Linked DNA regions of Homo sapiens: regions 2, 3, 4 and 5 are each linked to region 1. Evidence: promoter capture Hi-C in 16 types of primary human blood cells and fetal thymus (Javierre and others, 2016). All regions are on one chromosome and are shown on one strand. The core of a region is centred on a gene start or on the middle of the fragment in contact, and the rest is flanking DNA. Distances in the headings are between cores, read along the strand shown. Region 1 holds the start of TTLL7 (tubulin tyrosine ligase like 7). Region 2 overlaps LOC102724892 (a long non-coding RNA gene). Region 3 has its middle 61 kb from the start of SSX2IP. Region 4 holds the start of LINC01555 (long intergenic non-protein coding RNA 1555). Region 5 holds the start of LOC102724892 (a long non-coding RNA gene).

Evidence for each region. Contacts are between HindIII fragments. The CHiCAGO score rates a contact against its expected background, and 5 or more counts as called.
Region 2: a contact is called between a fragment that was not itself captured here and the fragment with the promoter of TTLL7 in region 1, in 1 of 17 cell types (erythroblasts). The highest score is 6.9, in erythroblasts.
Region 3: a fragment that was not itself captured here is called in contact with the fragment with the promoter of TTLL7 in region 1 in 1 of 17 cell types (total B cells); the score reaches 5.6 in total B cells.
Region 4: a contact is called between the fragment with the promoter of LINC01555 here and the fragment with the promoter of TTLL7 in region 1, in 14 of 17 cell types (non-activated CD4 T cells, activated CD4 T cells, naive B cells and 11 more). The highest score is 11.2, in non-activated CD4 T cells.
Region 5: a contact is called between a fragment that was not itself captured here and the fragment with the promoter of TTLL7 in region 1, in 1 of 17 cell types (total B cells). The highest score is 6.8, in total B cells.

What each region holds. Positions count from the first base shown.
Region 1 is chr1:83,997,101-84,000,768 of GRCh38, reverse strand. It overlaps TTLL7 (tubulin tyrosine ligase like 7), which reads left to right and starts at 1,637. Exons shown (of 21, transcript NM_024686.6): 1 at 1,637-1,838. It overlaps LOC124904205 (a long non-coding RNA gene), which reads right to left and starts at 1,481. Exons shown (of 2, transcript XR_007066195.1): 1 at 1,063-1,481. RefSeq lists silencers at 1,738-1,837, 1,848-1,977. The HindIII fragment of the contact is 3,041 bases long and covers 1-2,848 here.
Region 2 is chr1:84,780,456-84,784,246 of GRCh38, reverse strand. It overlaps LOC102724892 (a long non-coding RNA gene), which reads left to right. Exons shown (of 3, transcript XR_426717.3): 3 at 1,370-3,241. Among named protein-coding and RNA genes, the nearest start is that of SSX2IP, 92 kb to the right of the region's middle. RefSeq lists enhancers at 1,451-1,500, 1,691-1,770, 1,811-1,900. The HindIII fragment of the contact is 4,206 bases long and covers 47-3,791 here.
Region 3 is chr1:84,749,785-84,753,175 of GRCh38, reverse strand. No RefSeq gene overlaps it. Among named protein-coding and RNA genes, the nearest start is that of SSX2IP, 61 kb to the right of the region's middle. The HindIII fragment of the contact is 2,207 bases long and covers 186-2,392 here.
Region 4 is chr1:84,633,537-84,636,866 of GRCh38, reverse strand. It overlaps LINC01555 (long intergenic non-protein coding RNA 1555), which reads left to right and starts at 1,847. Exons shown (of 3, transcript NR_027379.1): 1 at 1,847-1,935. LOC124904206 (a long non-coding RNA gene) reads right to left here. Exons shown (of 5, transcript XR_007066196.1): 4 at 1,419-1,593. The HindIII fragment of the contact is 1,375 bases long and covers 941-2,315 here.
Region 5 is chr1:84,797,157-84,800,815 of GRCh38, reverse strand. LOC102724892 (a long non-coding RNA gene) reads left to right here and starts at 3,138. Exons shown (of 3, transcript XR_426717.3): 1 at 3,138-3,585. The HindIII fragment of the contact is 3,211 bases long and covers 804-3,659 here.

The DNA of each region.
Region 1 (3,668 bases), core at 388-2,887:
AAGATGATTAACAAGAAGGCAGTGGAGAATTCCTCTTCAACCTCATGTGACCTTGACAGTGTATTGTGACGCTGATGTTCGGCTAGTTCTGGGTGAAGTCCAGCTTCTTCTTTCTGATCACTCTTCTTGCCTCAGGGTGATGCCTACCCTGGACACCTAACTGCCCCCTCTCCATTCTAAAACCCCTTCTCACAAAGGAAGGATAAACAGACTCACATTCAAGTTGCAATCACAGATGTGACACGGTTTAATGTATATCGTTCTCAGAGGCATTCTAGGGGAAAGGAACAAGTCAAAAACTCCAGGTGGCAATGTCTGCTCTGCCGCTTATGATCGTGAGACTAACCCAGCACGACAAACCCTGAGCCCAGTTTCTCACCAGTGTCCTTTATGAGAAGATGCCCTCACTGACCAGATCAGTTCCCAATGCTGGCAAGGCTGTATGGAGGTCTATTGCAGGTTACCAATCTCACAGGAGTTTTTAGAAGAATAAATGAAGAAATGAAAATGAGACTATTCTCAGCACAGTGGTCTATAGAAAGTGCTGAATTTATGTTGATTTACTCAACGAAGGACAAAACTTTAAATTGTGAAATTTTATATTTTTTGGGATGCACTTGGAGGGCCTTTTTTTTTCCTACCTTTAATCACATTTTATAGGTAGTTGCCAATTCTGTTCTATCTTTTCTTTTTTTCTACAGGGAAAACTGTACACTTGTCCTGATCTTCACCATGCTCTGAAATGAACCTGTGTGAACCCAGCGTGACAGAAGCAGGGACCACAAAAGTCTAAGGAATTCATGTGTTAGGACTTCTTCCAGTTCTATACAATTCATTTTATGAGAAGACATGATTGCCTTCCCGTTTTCAAGACACGCAACTCTAAAATGGTGAACAATGAACCTCGAATATTCTTTAATTTCTGCAACAATCTTCTGTAAATCTTTATCTCGAAATGGCTTCCTAAATCTACATTTTTTTACAACTGCCGTGGTTCAACATTTGCTTAGCAGGAACTCTAGGTCAGAGCTGTCCCTCAGCATCTACGGGATGGGGCCCCACCTGATTTTATTTCCTAACTTTCGAGCTGGCCTCAGATACCCGTTTATTCTTTGCTTCACAAAGATGCTTAGATAAAAGATCTGAAGACTCTCTTCAAAGATTCAAAAAGCTCCACTGTTTTGTGGGAAGATGTCTGTGGTCAGATAGGCAGGTGGATCGGGCGCCTAGGGCCCGGAGGTAGAAGGAGGTGGCCGGAGGCGCTCAGGCCAGCGCCTCTCGCATCTCTGAGGAGGGGCGCCGCCCAGGCGCTCGCGTTGCTAAGTCCTCTGTTTGCCGCGTTCTAAAGGAGCCCCGAGCGGGACCAAGGCAAACGGGGGGGGGGTGTGTGTGGCCCGGGAAAGCTCGAGCAGTGTCTTCAGTAAACCCCCAGAAGAGGCAGCGGCCCCTCCGTTGATCCCTCCTGTCCCCAGGACCTCCTGACTCCGAGGGGGCAGAGGATTCCCCGAGTCCTTTGTTCCTCCCAACCGTCGCCGCCCCCGGCGCCCGCGCCTCTCGGCACGTCGTGCACCCCCGGCCGCAGCAGGCGAATGGTCTGGCCCGTCGGTAGCCGCCACCCGCTTGGGCAGCGACAGCTGTTCCAGGCACTCCGCGTCGAGCACCGGAGTCCCGAGCCGTGGCTGCCACGGGCGGTGGGCGGGCGGAGGAGAGCACCGGACCACCAGTGCAGGCTGCCGAGTCGGGGCGGCCGCCCACGGGGAAGCTGCGAGGCGCGGGAGCACCTGGGGGACCGCTTGCAGCGGGGACGCGAGGACCCGGGCTGGGCTTTCCTCACCCGGGTGAGTACCTGCTGCCGCCATCCTCCCCCGACCCCCTTCCATGTCCCCACGTCCCCAAAGGCTCCGCCCTGGCCCTCTTTCCGGGCCCCCATCCCCGGACTGTCACTGCTCTGGGGACACCGTCCCCGCTGGGAGCCGCGGAACGGGGAGCTGCTGCGTTCGTGCAAATGATTCAGCACCATTCGTGCCCTGAGAGGTTTGGGCAGAATGGGGGAGGGAGAGGGCGGAGGGGACGGGGTCAGTTGCTGTGATCTCAGCTCAGTTTTTAGGCTCCAGATGGGAGACTCGGGCGGGCGGGGTCGGGTTGGGTGAACGAGGAGGCTCCCTGCTGGTTTATTCTGTAATTCCGTCGTTTTCCCACATCGTGGTATAAGCCTCCGCGAGTATGCGGGGCATTCTTGAAAGGGTATCAAAATGCCCTTTTCGCACATGCGAGTGAAGTCTAGGGCCCTTGTAGGTACCTCTCACTTTCTCCACATCTTGCTCTGTTGGATGCCTGACTCATGCCATCATCCACTTATATCACATCGCAGCGTTCCCTCGACTGATGTAAAAGATACCCTATGAAAGTTGCCTTGTATTCTGGGTGGGTTTGATTGATCCTGGCATAGAAAGAAAAGATTTAGGAGAGGTAGGAAATAATACCTTCATAGCCTAGGCACTTACTTTTATATATCGTATTTTATTAAATCATCATAATCCAGAACCAAATGTGGAAACTGAGGAGCAGGGAAGTTAAATTACATTCTCAAGGTCACAGAACAGGAATTCGAATATAGGTTTTCCTGACTCTATAGTCCATGGATTTTCCACTGTATTAATGGAGTGTGTCCAAGTGTACATATATATGCTCTATTAGATATTAAACATAGAATTAATTAATTGAGGAGTAATCTCAAACAACAGCAACAACAACCTGTAAACTTTCTGCATAAGGAATTATTGCTCCTTCAATATGAAAGAAAGATGCTTTGAATCATGTGAAAAATAATCTATTTTCTTAGAAAGCTTATGGCAAAAAATATGTGAACAACACTACATAGGAGAGTGAGGTCATAACAGGAGATGTTCAGCACATTTTTGGCAGTGATATTTGGTGGATGCTCAAGTGTTGGAGAAGTCGATTAAAAACGTAAGAAGAACTCTGGAAATCTTTTTCTGTCTTAAATGTTAGGGAGACATTTACAGTAATAATAGTTACTTAGTTCATGAGGTGTGCGACTGAACTGCACCCCACAATAGGGTGACAGGTGAACCCATACTAAGATAATGTTACTTGATTCATTACAACTCTGTGATATTGCATAACAGGTGATAACTCCATTTTACAGACTAAGGAACAAAATTCAGAGAAGGTTCAAGACCACTCAGTAAGCCATGGAATTTGGACAAGCCTTGACTCTTAGTCAGTTTAGAAATATGAGTGTTGTAGTAAAATGTAGTTCTTATATAGTGGGAAACTGAATTAGTTTGTTGTTACCCTGCCGTTAAGAGTCAACAATTATATTGACCTTCTATGCTCCTTCTGTAAAAATAATGGATGCTAGGTCTTTCTTCGCCCGTTGATGGGTCCTTTGACTTGCTTTCATTAGCGACTTACAGATTTTTTCTTAAGAAATGCATCTCTTGTTTATGTCTCAAGAGGCAGGTTGCTATAGTACAGATGCTCATTATCTCTAAATACTCACATAGTATTGATGGTAGGCAGGAACAGAGTCATCTTAGTATGTCATTTCTAAAGTATTGAACCATTTGCATTGGAGAATTCTTTTTCAAGTTAACGGGGGTATTGATAAAGTCCACTGCCTAAATAAGGACATAAAATGGAGG
Region 2 (3,791 bases), core at 900-3,399, 780 kb before region 1:
GGTGGGAATAAACTCTTGTTTGTAGGAAAGGTTTGTGGAGAAAGCTTTTCAATAGAATTCAAAAGGTCTGTTTACAGATTAGGAACTAAGGTAGAGACTGAACATTTCACCCTATAAACTGTCGACCGAGTATCTCAAGATTAGCTATCTAGTTAGCCCATTTGTTGGCTGAAGGAGCACCACGATTATAATATGGCTGGAGAGTAGCTGCTTGCAATACCAGTCACATGAGACTGTGATCTTAGAGGGCAACTCTTCAAAGTTCTCAGGAGGCTTCCTTAGGGTAGTGGAATAATGAGCAAAGAAGATGTAAATCTGACTATGTCACTCTTTTGCTTCAAACTCTTGTAGGGTAAGGTCTTATAAGATAAGGGCCTGGCACTCAAGGCCCTCCTCAGGTTCGGGCTTCAGACCCTCTTCAGCGCCATCAACCCCCACAGGCCAGCGTTCACGCACCAGTAGCACTGACTGCTGGCTACCTGCTCCATCTATCAGCTCAGTGCGTGTGCTGACCACCTACTGTGTGCCAAGTACCGTGCTCACCTTGGAGGCACATTGCCACGCTGTCCTATGCCCACCACTCTCCAGTCCCGGGGAACCTGCCACATGTCTGCCAAGGCCAACCTCAGGCTCCCTTCCTTTCCAGGAAGCCTAGGTTGAGTTCCAGCCCCCTCTGTACTCCCATTTGTTGGAATAATGCCTCTGGGTTTGACTTACTCCCTAATCTGTTCCTTAAGAATGGAAACACGTCTTATTCATTTTGGATCCCCTCACCTGGCATAGGGCTTGGCACATGGTGTTCAATAGACGTTTGTTGAACTGAACTGAAGAGGAAAGTTCGGTTGGGGTCATAGGAGAGGGTCATGTATGCAAGGTCCCCTGGGAGAGGTGGGGGCGGGGTAAGATGGGGCAGGATAAGTGTTAAGTGGCTTATTTGTTCCCTGGTCTCCCCAGGGAGAGACATAGATTACTTGGCTTCCCTTTTCTGGTCAGAAGAAACTTGGCTTCCTGTAGGCTCATGTCCATGCCCACCAGAGGCACGTCCTACTAGAGAGGGTGTATGTGGACTCAGGCCCAGCCCCTCCCTCTCACATCGAGAGGAGAGTAAAAGTGAGACCTGCATCTACCAAAGATAAGGATGTGGACATAGGACAGAGGGAGGTTTGAGTCACAACTCAAGATTCTATGGCTGGTCGTGTGACGAATTGTTTAGTGATCATTGTCAGGAAGCCCCGTGTGGAAACTGGAGGGGTAAACACCCCCCAAAACCGGGTGGCCCACTGTCTGCCACTAGCTAGCACTAACAATCACAATGAGAATGACAGAACACTGCCTCCTGTTCTAAGTGCTTTATGTATACATTTAACAGGAATTGCAAGGGAAGAATTGGTCCACGTCTGTGAGAGGAGGCCTCTGAAACACGCTGACTTCACAGAGGAGAAGGAATGAGCTCAATTTCAGGCACCTCCTCCGGGGCGGTCAAGAGCAGAATGAAGGAGAACATGTATGGCCCTAGGTTGGCCTTGAAGAATTAGAGAAGCTGCTGGTGCCCCGCCCCCAACCTGGCCCAACAGCAGAGCCTCCGCTAGGGGGAGCCGTGGAGACCTGATTTCCTCTGCGCCGCCTTTCCTAATGAATACCCCAGGGGAGCTCCTGGCAGCACCCTGTGGAATGGCCCCGCGGAGCTCTGGCCCCTGGAATTTGCCCTTCACAATTATGCTCCCTGCTGGGAGAAGTATAAATATGGATGGAGCGTGGCGTCTTTAAACATGGCACAAGAGTAGAGGAACAACCAAGTCCAAATGATAATATTTTGAAACGCCACGGGGAGCCTCTGCTGCTGTTGAGTTAGAATTGCTTCTCTTTCATGTGATTAAAGAAGCCCTTGTGGGTTTTTGCTTTTCCTTAGAGACATACCATGGTTTCTCCCCCCGCACTACAGCACTGAACGATTTTTAAGGTTTCTAAGTGCACTCCATTTACATTTCCTACTCATTCTCTAAATGAAAGGCAGGCTAAAACACATTAATGAGCTTCCTGATTACTGCAGCCCTTGAGAAATTAATTAATGACAATGCAGCCACACTTAACATTCCTCCTCCTTTCTGAGTTTGGAAAGCGGGAGGAGCTGCGCTTTAATCCACGCCCAACCAAGAGCCACCATGTGTCTTTAGCCGAAGAGTTGGTTTGCCAGGACACATTTCAGATTGCCTTTCCTAGAGAAAAGCCATTCCCTGAATAATTAAGAGACAGCATCTTTTCCATTGTCTGGAATTTTTTTTTACCCTAAATTAGGTGGTTTAAGCTGGTAGATGTTGGGTATGACTTGTTTCTTTTCTTTTCTTTTCTCTTTTTTAAGTAAATAAGTGTCAAGCACCAGCATTTACCTGGCCCTTCCCTTATAATAATAGCCAACACTTTAAAGTTGCTTGTCAGGGACTGTTCCAACTGCTCTGTCTTTCTTTGCCTCTCTCTGTGTGTACATATTTACTTATTAAATCTCACAATAACCCTGGGGTAGGTGGTATTATTATCCCCTATTTACAAAGAGTGAAGAAGAAGAACAAGACATATCCACGGATCTACCAGCTAAAACTACCTAATTTAGGACTTTAAAAAATTCCTAAGCCATTAAAAAAGATGCCATCACTGAAGAACATACAGTGAGAAAGTGGAAGAGCCATGATCTGAACTCAAAGGGATTGGCTCAGAATCCATGCCTTAGCCAGTAACTACATCTACAGCCAGCCATATGTACATTTGTATCTTGAGTTGTTTTTATTTTTTAATCTGTGTTTATTTTATTATTTATTTTCTATTGTATATATTTAAGGTATACAACATGATGTTTTGATATACATAGTGAAACGATTATTGCAGGTAAGCAAATTAACGTATTCATCACCTTCCCTACCTTCTCTAGTTACCCTGTTTTCAGTAAGAGCACCTAAAATCTAGTCTCTTAGCAACTTTTCAATATACAAGACTGTATGATTAACTATAGTCCTCCTGCTGTATGTTGGATTTTTAAATTTATCCTTCCCACATAACTTTGTACCTTCTGACAAACTCCCCATTTCTTTCCCCTCCCCACCCTTGGTAACCACTGTTCTACTCTGTTTCTATGTATTAGACTTTTTGTTAGATTCCACATACAAGTGAGATCATGCAGTAGTTTTCTTTCTGTATCTGTCTTACTTTTTAGCATAAAGTACTCCAGGTTCATTCATGTTGTAGCAAATAGCAGTATCTCCTTTTTAAAGGCTGAATAGTATTCCATTGTAGGGATATTGTAATATATATAGATATCACAATTTATTTATCCATTCATTCATCAATGGGCACTTAGGTTGTTTCCACATCTAGGCTATCATGAATAGTGCTGTGTTTACTGAGATGTTTTCCACTCATCTTCATTCCAGGTGCCTTCAGTGCTGCTTCTGCCTGCAGAGATGTCCTCCAGTCACCATACTTTGCCTCCGGTAGGCTGGCTGAGGACAGAGAATAGTCAACACACACAACCACTGTTAGAGCGTGGGTAAACCCCAGAGTGATTTTATAGCATGCAGGCATTTCACATCCAGCAGATAGGCATTGGGCTTTGCACCATGCATTTCATCTTGTTTCCTCCTTTCTTATGGGGAGAGATGAAGGAAATCCTTTGCAAGAAGCATATTCTCATGGGGGTGTCATCGCCGCTGAAAACAGCGGACAGAGGTTAGCAAGACTGCTCCTATTGTTACAATAAGGACCCTGAGGCTTGGAGGACTGCTGACTTATTTGCTCAGGAT
Region 3 (3,391 bases), core at 40-2,539, 750 kb before region 1:
TGAAGATAATTCGATTATTATTATTTGTTTAAATAATTTCCTTTTCACACCGTATTGCAGTTCCCACTGTATCACCTGTTGCTTTAGACACGTGAACACTTAGAAAATGCATATTCAATATTATAACAATTTAATTTTTTAACACAGCTATTGTTTTCCTAATACAAACTATGGGATATAAAGCTTAACAAAATCTTTGCTGGTGGGGCAGAGTTTAAGAAATCTGAGAGGCCAGGCACGCTGGCTCACGCCTGTAATCCCAGCACTTTGGGAGGCCAAGACAGGTGGATCATGAGGTCAGGAGTTCAAGACCAGCTTGGCCAGCATGATGAAACCCCGTCTCTACTAACAATACAAAAATTAGCCAGGCGTGGTGGTAGGCGCCTGTAATTCCAGCTACTTGGGAGGCTGAGGGAGAGAGTCGCTTGAACCCAGGAGGTGGAGGTTGCAGTGAGCCGAGATCACACCACTGTACTCCAGCCTGGGCGACAGGGAGAGACTCCATCTAAAAAAAAAAAGAAAAAAAAAAGAAGTCTGAGAGAAGCAGTCAAAAAGCATATGGTGAGAGAGCACTGCACTGTGACATGAGTTGGGAGACGTGGGCCACTGCCCCCCTTATAGCGCTTCTCACATTGTGGTCATTACCCCCTCACTTCTCTTCTGCCTCACTAGACTTGGGATCTAGAGGCAGGCACTGCCCTACCCACCTTAGTAACCACCACGATTAGCACAGGAACACAGCAGGTTCTCAATAAGAGCTGGATGGGAGGATGGATGCATGGGAAAATGGGCAGGCTCAGGGTAAGAGGTGGCTCATGCCTGTAATCCCAGCACTTTGGGGGGCTGAGGTGGGAGGGTCACTTGAGGCCAGGAATTTGAGATCAGCCTGGGCAACATAGACTCTTCTCTAAAAAAGAAGGAGAAGGAGCAAGAAGGAGAAGGAGAAGGAGGGAGAAGGAGAAGAGTAAGAAGGTAAGATATGTGGGAATACCAATGCTGATAAGTGAGCCTCCTGCAGAATCCTAGTGACATCATCTCAAAGATAAATCATTCTCAAGTTCTGAGAACAGGTGGCACTTCTTATCCATGGGCTCCACATCCATGAATTTTGGGTCAAAAATATTCTTGAGAATAAAATAAAAAATAACCATACAACAATAAAAAATATACAAATAAAAAACCAATACAGTACATCCACTATTTATATAGCATTTACATTATATTTGGTATACAGTAATCTAGAGATGATTTAAAGTATATGGAAGGATATGTATAGGTTATATGCAAATATGACACCATTTTATTTTGTTTTTATATATTTAAGGGTTATAAATGCCATTTTGTTACATGAATATGTTGTATAGTGGTGAAGTCTGGGTTTTTAGCGACATTGTACCCATTAAGTAAATCCTCATCCTTCATGTCCTCCCACCCTCCCACCCCTCAGAGTCTTCAATATCTAATATTCCCCTCTCTGTATCCATGTGCACACATTATTTTACTAGACCGTTTTATATAAGGGACTTGAGCATCTGAGGATTTGGATGTCTGCAGGGTGGTGGTGGGGAGGAGGGCGGTTCCTGGGACCAATTCTCCATGGATACAGAGGGATAATGTTATAAGACAAAGCATTTCTCTGGCCTCTTTGTGTATGTCCTAAATGCTGATTGAGCACCTGATATGTGCAAGGCACATACTAGACACAGGGATACAAAATGAGTAGGACATCATCATAGTCCTGATGCTACATACAGTCAATAAAGGAAAAAAGCTGAAAGCATAGTTTAGAAAGTGTTAGGTACTCAAAGTGAGAAATAAATTATGTGCCCTAGGGGTTAAGAAAAAAGAGGACTTTCAACTGTAAGGGTCAAGGAAAGTAGACCCTTACAGGACCCATCAAGGAAAGGGATGATGACATTTGCATTTCCTCTCAAAGGATGGGAGATTTCCTTGTGGATGACAGAGCTCTATGAGCCTCCCCTCCAAGCTAAGAGAGGTGGCTTGTTCCTGAACACCACGCTAAAGGAGAAAGAATTCAAAGCCATCTCCCATCCCTTCTCCCCATTTTGTGAGCCCATGATACTGCCGCCATAGTGCATCCAGACAGCCTGGCATCCCAGATCACGAGCTGCAAGCCACACTTGATAAGCACATTCTGGGTATGGATTTGACTACAACATTCCCAAACCTTCCAAGCAGTCTTTGTGGCTTCCTGTTAGAGTCTTTAGTTTGGGGTCACTCTTCATTTTTCTACTGCAGTATTTTTCCAACTACAGATCACAGTCCATTAGTGGGTCAGGTAATCAATATAGTGAATGTGACCAGCATTTTAAAGAAATGGACTAGAATAGAATGGAAATAATTAAGGTGCATTGCATAATAAGGGAAAGCTTTTATAGGTCAAGCATTATGTGTGAATAGTGGCAGCCCTGCTGGGTGATCCTTCTCTGAGAGGCTTCAGGGGACAAACTTCCTTGCCAGAGTATTGGTGCCATACTCCCATGGCAATTCCAAGCTTTGATAGAATTGAAGAGAAAGCTCCTAATTTAAACTTGGATATCCTCTAAGGCCCATGAATATGTAAATGCATGCCATAATTCCATGGAATACATTTTTGTGCTAAACATAAACATTTTTGAAAGCAGATGTCTTTTTTGGAGTGGCACTAACACATTCTCAATTCTCCATCCCATTATGCGTGTGTGCACACGTCCTCCCATGGCTGGCCAAAGGAAGTTTATGTCAACTCTCTGAGTAATGTGCCTCATCGGGCAGGAAAATACAAGTCAAAGTGCCACGGAATGTTTCTGCCAGGGAGTCACCCAGAGCCTCACAAAGCTGTGGAGCCTTTTAAAGTCCCTCCAGGTCATTTTATTAGAGTTGTTTGCAAATATGTACTTCTGCCACTAACAGATTTTAGTCTGATTCAATAAACCACTGTTTTCTACTTCCCTAGTGTCTCATAGAAGCCTTTGCATTATTGATGGAATGTGAGGCATGCCGCACATTTTCACTTCCAAAGGTAGATTGTGAAACCGTGGAAGCATGATTAAATTTGATAGAACCAAGTAATGCCCAGCTTGTCATTCATTGATTAATTCTTTCATTCAATGAACATTTACAAGCGCCCAGTAAGTGCAAAGAATGTTGGTAGCTGCTGGGGATCCAATGATAGACAAGCATGGTCTCTGCTATCAGTAAGCTCAAATCACACTGAGCATTCAGCAAGTCATTGTGACATTTTTGCTTTTGGGGATGGAATTATGGAGAATAATACATTTGGGAAAAAAGAATGATCCTCAACCATTTCTAAACAAATGAAGATATTTGAATGATTGTATCACAGCAGCAGTGCAAGTGATCTGTGGCTATTATAAAGTGGTTGCCCTCC
Region 4 (3,330 bases), core at 598-3,097, 640 kb before region 1:
GACTGCCTTAGTCATTCCTGGGCTTGGGCCAAGCTAACTTTGGGAGAAATTTATAGTTTAAATGATAACAGCCCTTCCCCAAAACTAAACCACCTTTGTAAAGCAAATGAAAGACCACCAGGCTAGGTGGATGAGAGGAGCACGAACTCTGCTAAGGGGTAGACCTAAACAATTACAAGCCATTATTCTGGAGGTCACAAGATTTGCAACTTCCCCCAATTACTCCTGCAGATAACATCACTATTGTAGAACCTAAGATTGGTCTTCTGAGATGTCTTTTCAGGCTTTTGTATTTCTGACTACCATGGCTCCACTTGGACCTGCCAACCAGTCCTGTGGCCCCACCAAGAAGCAAATTCTGCACACCCCTCTGATTGCACCCCCAACCAATCAGCAGCACCCATTCCCTTGCCTGCCAAACCATCCTTGAAAAACCCTAGCCTCCAAATTTTCAGGGATGCTGATTTGAGTAAAAATAAGACTCCAGTATCCTGTTCAGCTGCCTCTGTGTGAATTAAACTCTTTCTGTGTTGCAGTGCCTCTGTCTTGATAAATTGGTTCTATATAGGCAGTGGGCAAAATGAACCCATTTGGCAGTTACACTCAGACAGTGGATCTTTGTGTAGGTTCTTCAACAGTGTTGTGCCAGCCTACAGGATGAAACACCAAGCTCACAGAAGAGTGTTCATTTAAAAGAAAGCAACACTAATGATCCACACAACATCCTGAATTTGTTATGTCCCAGAAAGGCTTATCATAAGTTCAGTAATTCTGGTTCATCTACCAAGATAAGTAAGTGTGTTTGATTTTGTAAGGTATGCAGCAGTGATCTCCTATTTTGGTGTTTTTCAATACAATTTTGGTTATGTGCAAATAAAAAATTGATGAAATTTTATTTTCCTTCAATATCAACTTAAATGGTTCTTACATCTATAAAGCTTTTTCTGACTCTGTGGGGAGGCAGTCACAACTCTGCTCTCAGAATTGAACTTTCTCCCTTTTATTCATTCAGCAAATGTTTATTGAGTACTTATTAGGATTGCTATGCTAGGTGCTGGGATTCTAACATGGAAGGTGACTTGGCCATTGCCCTCAGAAACTAACAAACTACTGCGGCAAACAAGCCAATGGGCCACTTAAGGCACCTGAGTAAGTGCTCCAATAAAGGTTTTGGAGGGCTCTGAGGCAGGGAAGAGGGGGAGAAGCATGTTTAGCCTGCGGAATAGGAGGTCAGAGAGGATGCTTGAGTTAAGTATTGAAGAGGGAACAGAACATACAAGATCAGAGGTATGAAACCAAATGACCTCCAGGGAAATTACAAATAGCTTTGTAAGAACAAAGTGGTGTGGGAGAACAGTGGGAGGGGTAGAGAGGAGCCAGGTTAAAAGGGTCTCAGATTCAAGAAGTTTTGAACTTACCCTGAAGGCTTAGTGATGTGCTTGGTCAAGCACAACTGTGACCCAGAGTGTTCCCTCTCTCTCCTTGTCATAGCATTGTGAGTATACCTCTATTAAAGCATTTATTACAAATGCTTTAACTGCATATCCTTCTGTCATAGCATTTATCACAATTCTAATTCCATATGGAGAACTGCTGAAAAGAAAGCAAAGTGGAGATGATACCAGGTTGCAGTAATCCAAGCAAGAAGTGATTGAGAGGAATGCATGTTCCTACAGGTAGACTCTGATTGGATGTCGGTGTTAAGTAAAACAATCTCTGGCTCAGATAGCGGTGGATGAAAGGGCTTACAGAAGAACAGCTTTAGGGGATTGAGCAGGAAATAGTCTAGTCAGCAGACCTGGGTTGCCTGTGTGTTAACCCAGCAAAGGTCTGTCTTCAGGACTGGAAAATGACCTCTGAGTCTTACACATTCTGCCTGCTAAGAGTGATTTTGCATGCCTGAGGCCTCGGGCCATGCTGTACCGGTGTGACTAGGTAAGTTTATCCTAACAATGTGATTTATGGTGAATGCCTTTTTTGCCTGTGGGCTGGAGTCTGAGTAGCTGAGATCAGTCACCTGGGTAGGCACTGCATACCTACCTGATGACCCCCAATAAAAACAATAAAAATCCTGAGCACCAAGTCTTGGGTGAACTTCTGTGGCAACACTTCACATGTATTGTCACATATTGCTGTGACTCCACTGGGAGAGGATACCTGGAAGTTTGTGCTTGCTTTTTCCAAGACTTTGCTCAGGTGCCTGCCCCTTTGCTGATTTTAATCTGTAACCTTTTGCGGTAATAAATCATGACCATAAGTATAACAGCTTTTCTGAGTCCTGTGAGTCTTTCTAGTTCATGTGAGTTCATCAAGCTTAAGGGTGATCTTAGGGACCCCTGACACAGGGATAATGAATTGTTCTGGACATATTGAATTTAAGGGTCTCTGAGCCATTCAAGTTCGTGTGGATGAACTTGGGTTTTTATTAGGGTTCCTCAGGTAGGTATGCAGTGCCTACCCATGTGAATGCCTACTGTTGGCAATTGGATATATAAGTTTGGAGCTCAACAGAGAGGTCTGGGATAGATATTGAGATCTGAGAGCCAATACATAAGTGGCTGTTGAAGCTAGGGGCATACATGAGGTCACAAAAAAGAGACAGATGGTAGAATGAGAAGCAGAAGGTAGAGACTTGGGTATCACTGGCATTCAAAAATCAAATGTGCAGGTATGGTGGCACATGCATATAGTCCCAGCTACTTGGGAAACTGAGGCAGAAAGTTTGCTTGAGCCCAGGAGTTCAAGGCAGCAGTGAGCTATGATCACACCACTGCACTCCAGCCTGGCCAACAGAGTGAGACCCTGTCTCTACTTCAGAAAGAAAAAAGAGAAAAGAAAAAGAAAAAAGAAAAGGCAAATATGGAAGAAAAGGCTCTTTTATGGAGTGAAGAGACAGAGAGTTGAGAGTCAATATCAAGAAGATATCAAGGCCAGGCATGGTGGTTCTTGTCTGTAATCCCAGCACTTTGGGAGGCGGAGGCAGGTGGATTGCTTGAGCCCAGGAGTTTGAGACAAGCCTGGGCAACATAGTGAAACCCTCCCTCTATAAAAAATACAAAAATTAACTAGGCATGGTGGTGTGCTTGTAGTCCCAGTTACTCAGAAGGCTGAAGCGGGGATCACTTGAGCCCAGGAGGTCAGGTTGACGCTGCAGTGCAGTGGTGATAGCACCGCTGCACTCCAGCCTGGGTGACAGAGCAAGACCCTGTCTCAAAAAAAAAAAAAAAAAAGCCACCCTTAGGAAGGAGAGAATTCCAAGGAAGTTCAAATGTTATAAAGAAAACAATATATAGAAAAACGCTGGCAGTATTGTGGTCATTAGTAACTTTA
Region 5 (3,659 bases), core at 1,160-3,659, 800 kb before region 1:
CAACAAACTGCCTTGTTTCTTTTTAATGTAAAACCAGAATCTGACCACTTCTCACAGCCCCCCATGCTATTTCTTGGTCTGCGCTACCTTGATCTCTTGCCTGGATTCCTGCATACCCTCTCATTGGTCTTCCAGCCCCTACCCTTCTTTCCTACATTTATTCTCCACACTCCAGCCAGAGTGAGCCTTTTACAATTCAAGTCAAGTCATGTCACTCCCCACTCTGAACTTTGCAGTGGCTTCCCATCTTATTAAAGTGATGTCAGCGACCTTCACGATTTACCCCGTCACCTCTTTACCTCTCCTCCTTCTACTCTCCCCCTCACTCACACCATTCCCATTACATCATCCTCTTGCTTGTCCTTGAACATGCCAGGGATGCTACTGCCTCAGGGCCCTTGTGCTCTTGGTTCCTCTCCCATATATCTGCACATGGCTTACTTCCTCAGCTCCTTCAAATCTGTACCCAAATGCCTCCTTCTACATGAGACTTTCCCCAACCATCCTATCTAAATTGTAACCCACCCCACTCCTGGTTCTGACCTTCCCCCTTCCTCTGCTCCATTTTTTTCATAGTACTTATCATCTTCTAAAACGCTCCCCCTACTAGAACCTAAGCTCCATGAGGCAGGGACTGTTGCCTCTTATGTTCAGTGATCTATTCCAAGCACTTAGAACAGCCTGGCAGATAGTAGGTGTTCTGTAAATATTTGGATATAAATAATAAAGAATGAATGTATAATATACAGGAGGGAACCTCCTTTTAAGGAATATTTCCATCTTCTGGATTTGTTTTTTAAGCTTTACTAAGGTATAATCGATACAAAAAATTGCACATGTTTAATGTACACATTTGATGAGCTTGGGCATATGCATACACCTGTAATACCATCATCACAATCAAATCACTAAACATATCCATCACCTCCAAATATTTCCTGGTGTTCCTTGTCTGTCTGTGTGTGTGCATGTGTGTGTGTGTGTGTGGTAAGAACACTTAACATGAGATCTATCCTCTTAACATATTTTAAAGTGTGCAATACTGTACTGTCTCTTTCCATTGAATTTGTGTTCATATAGTCCCTAAGAGAGAATGGGAACACTCTTCTGAACAACTACTCTAGGCACACAAATTCAAGTATTCTGTTTTGTTTTGTTTTGTTTTGAGATGGAGTCTCGCTCTGTCACCTAGGCTGGAGTGCAGTGGTGCCATCTCGGCTCACTGCAACCTCTGCCTCCCAGGTTCAAGAGATTCTTCTGCCTCAGCCTCCTGAGAATCTGGATTACAGGCACCTGCCACCTCGCCCAGCTAGTGTTTTTTGTATTTTTAGTAGAGACGGGGTTTCACCATGTTGGCTAGGCTGGTCTTGAACTCTTGACCTCAGGTGCTCTACCTGCCTCAGCCTCCCAGAGTACTGGGATTACAGGCGTGAGCCACTATGGCTGGCCAAATTCAAGTATTCTAATCACTAACACTTATCGTGTGCTTATAAGTTGAGCACTGTGGGAAGCATTCTGCAAGCATCATTTCTTTAAATTATCACAACCCAATGAAGTAACTTGGAGTGATGTTACCTCCGTTGTATAGACAGGAGTACACCAGTACACCAGATCAGAAAGGTTAAGTGATTTTCCCAAACCACACAGCATATATAGGTATATATAAATTTCTTTTTCTTTCTTTCTTTCTTTCTTTCTCTTTCTTTTTCTTTCTTTCTTTCTTTCTTTCTTTCTTTCTTTCTTTCTTTCTTTCTTTCTTTCTTTCTCTCTCTTTCTTTTTCTTTCTTTCTTTTCTTTTCTTTCTCTCTCTCTTTCTTTCTTTCTTTCTTCTCTCTCTCTCCCTCCTTCTCTCTCTTTCTTTCTTTCTTTCTCTATCCCCCCTCCCTCCCCCTCCCTCTCTTCTCTTCTCTTTCTTCTTTCTTTTCTTTTCTTTCCAGGGTCTCAGTGTATCACCCAGGCAGGAGTGCAGTGGCATGATCATAACTCACTGCAGCCTCAAACTCTTGGACTCAAGCCATCTTCCTGCCTTAGCCTCCTGAGGAGGTAGGACTACAGATGCAGGCCACCATGCCTGACTAATCTTTTTCTTTTTTTTTAGAAATGGGGGTCTTACTATTTCCTTCCTTCCTTCCTTCCTTCCTTCCTTCCTTCCTTTCTTCCTCTCTCTCTCTTTCTTTCTCTCTCTCTCTTTCTGTCTCACTGTGTCACCCAGGCTGGAGCGCAGTGGCATGATCATAGCTCACTGCAGCCCTGAACTCTTGGGCTCAAGCCATCCTCCTGCCTTAGCCTCCTGAGGATGTAGGACTATAGGCATGGGCCACCATGCCTAATCTTTTTTTTTTTTTTTTTTAGAAATGGGGGTCTTACTATGTTATTCAGGCTGGTCTCAAACTTCTAGCCTTAAGCAAACATCTTGTTTTGGCCTCCCAAAGTGCTGGGATTGAGTTTCTTTATCACTTCACAATTCTACCTCCTTTAAGCAAAGACCTATTGTCAGGATTGGTTCTTTGGTATTCCTTTTTCAACAGTTGCCGAAAGCCCTAAAAGAATTCTTACCCAGCTGTTTGAAACAGTGGAAAGACCTCAGAAGTGTGACCAACTAGTCAGGCAAAGCCATAAGAGAGGTGCCAGAATTCAACTGGATGTCATTTTAATAGCCCTAAGAATTAATTATCCTAACAGATTGAAAGAATGCAGGATTCTATCTATCAAGTTCAAATGTCTTTGGAGAGAATCAGAAAAAAAATACATATATATATACACACATATATATGTATATGTATATACACAAATATACATCTATCTATCTATCTATCTATCTATCTATCTATCTATCTATCTATATGCAAAACATAATTGGGTGAAGTATGCAGTCCAGGGGAGTGGGGTGGGGGTGCTGCAGGCTTCTGTGAGGAGATAAAGAAACTCAGTAAAGTAGAATGTGAACTTGGGGACATGGACTGTGAGACACATCATCTGAAGGGCATTGATAGTGCCGCTATAAATAGAACGAAGCATGTTCCAGCAGCATTGCTGATGGCAAGGCAGTTAGCTTCCCAGACACCACCTCTGGGCGTTACCATGACTCATGGGAGTGACAGGTAGCTCTTTTGTGGGTGCAGTGGGTTGAATGGTGGCCCCTAAAAAGATATGTTTACCTCCAAATCCCTAGAACTTGTGCATGTTACTTTATTTGGAAAATTGATCTTTGCAGATGTAATGAAGTTAAGAATCTTAATATAAGATTATCCTGGAATACCTGACTGGGACCTAAATCCAATGACAACCGTCCTTATAAGAAAAGTGGAGACACGTGGAGGCAAAGGTGCTGTGAACATGAAGCTAGAGATAGCAGTGATGTGGCCACAAGCCAAGGAAGCCCGGGAATGCCAACAGCCACCAAAAGCTGGAAGAGGTAGGGAGGGATTCACCTCTAGAGACTCCAGAGGGTCATGGCCCTGCTGACACCTTGATTTCGGAATCCCAGCCTCCAAAATGGTGAGAGAATAAATTTCTGTTGTTTGAAGCCACCTGGTTTATGATGATTTATTACAGCAGCCCAGAGAAACTAATACAGTACAGTGGGTAAGTATCACCCAACCCTAGGCTGATTTCAATTCAAGTATGGATGTGTTTAAGGAAATTAACCTGTTGTATAT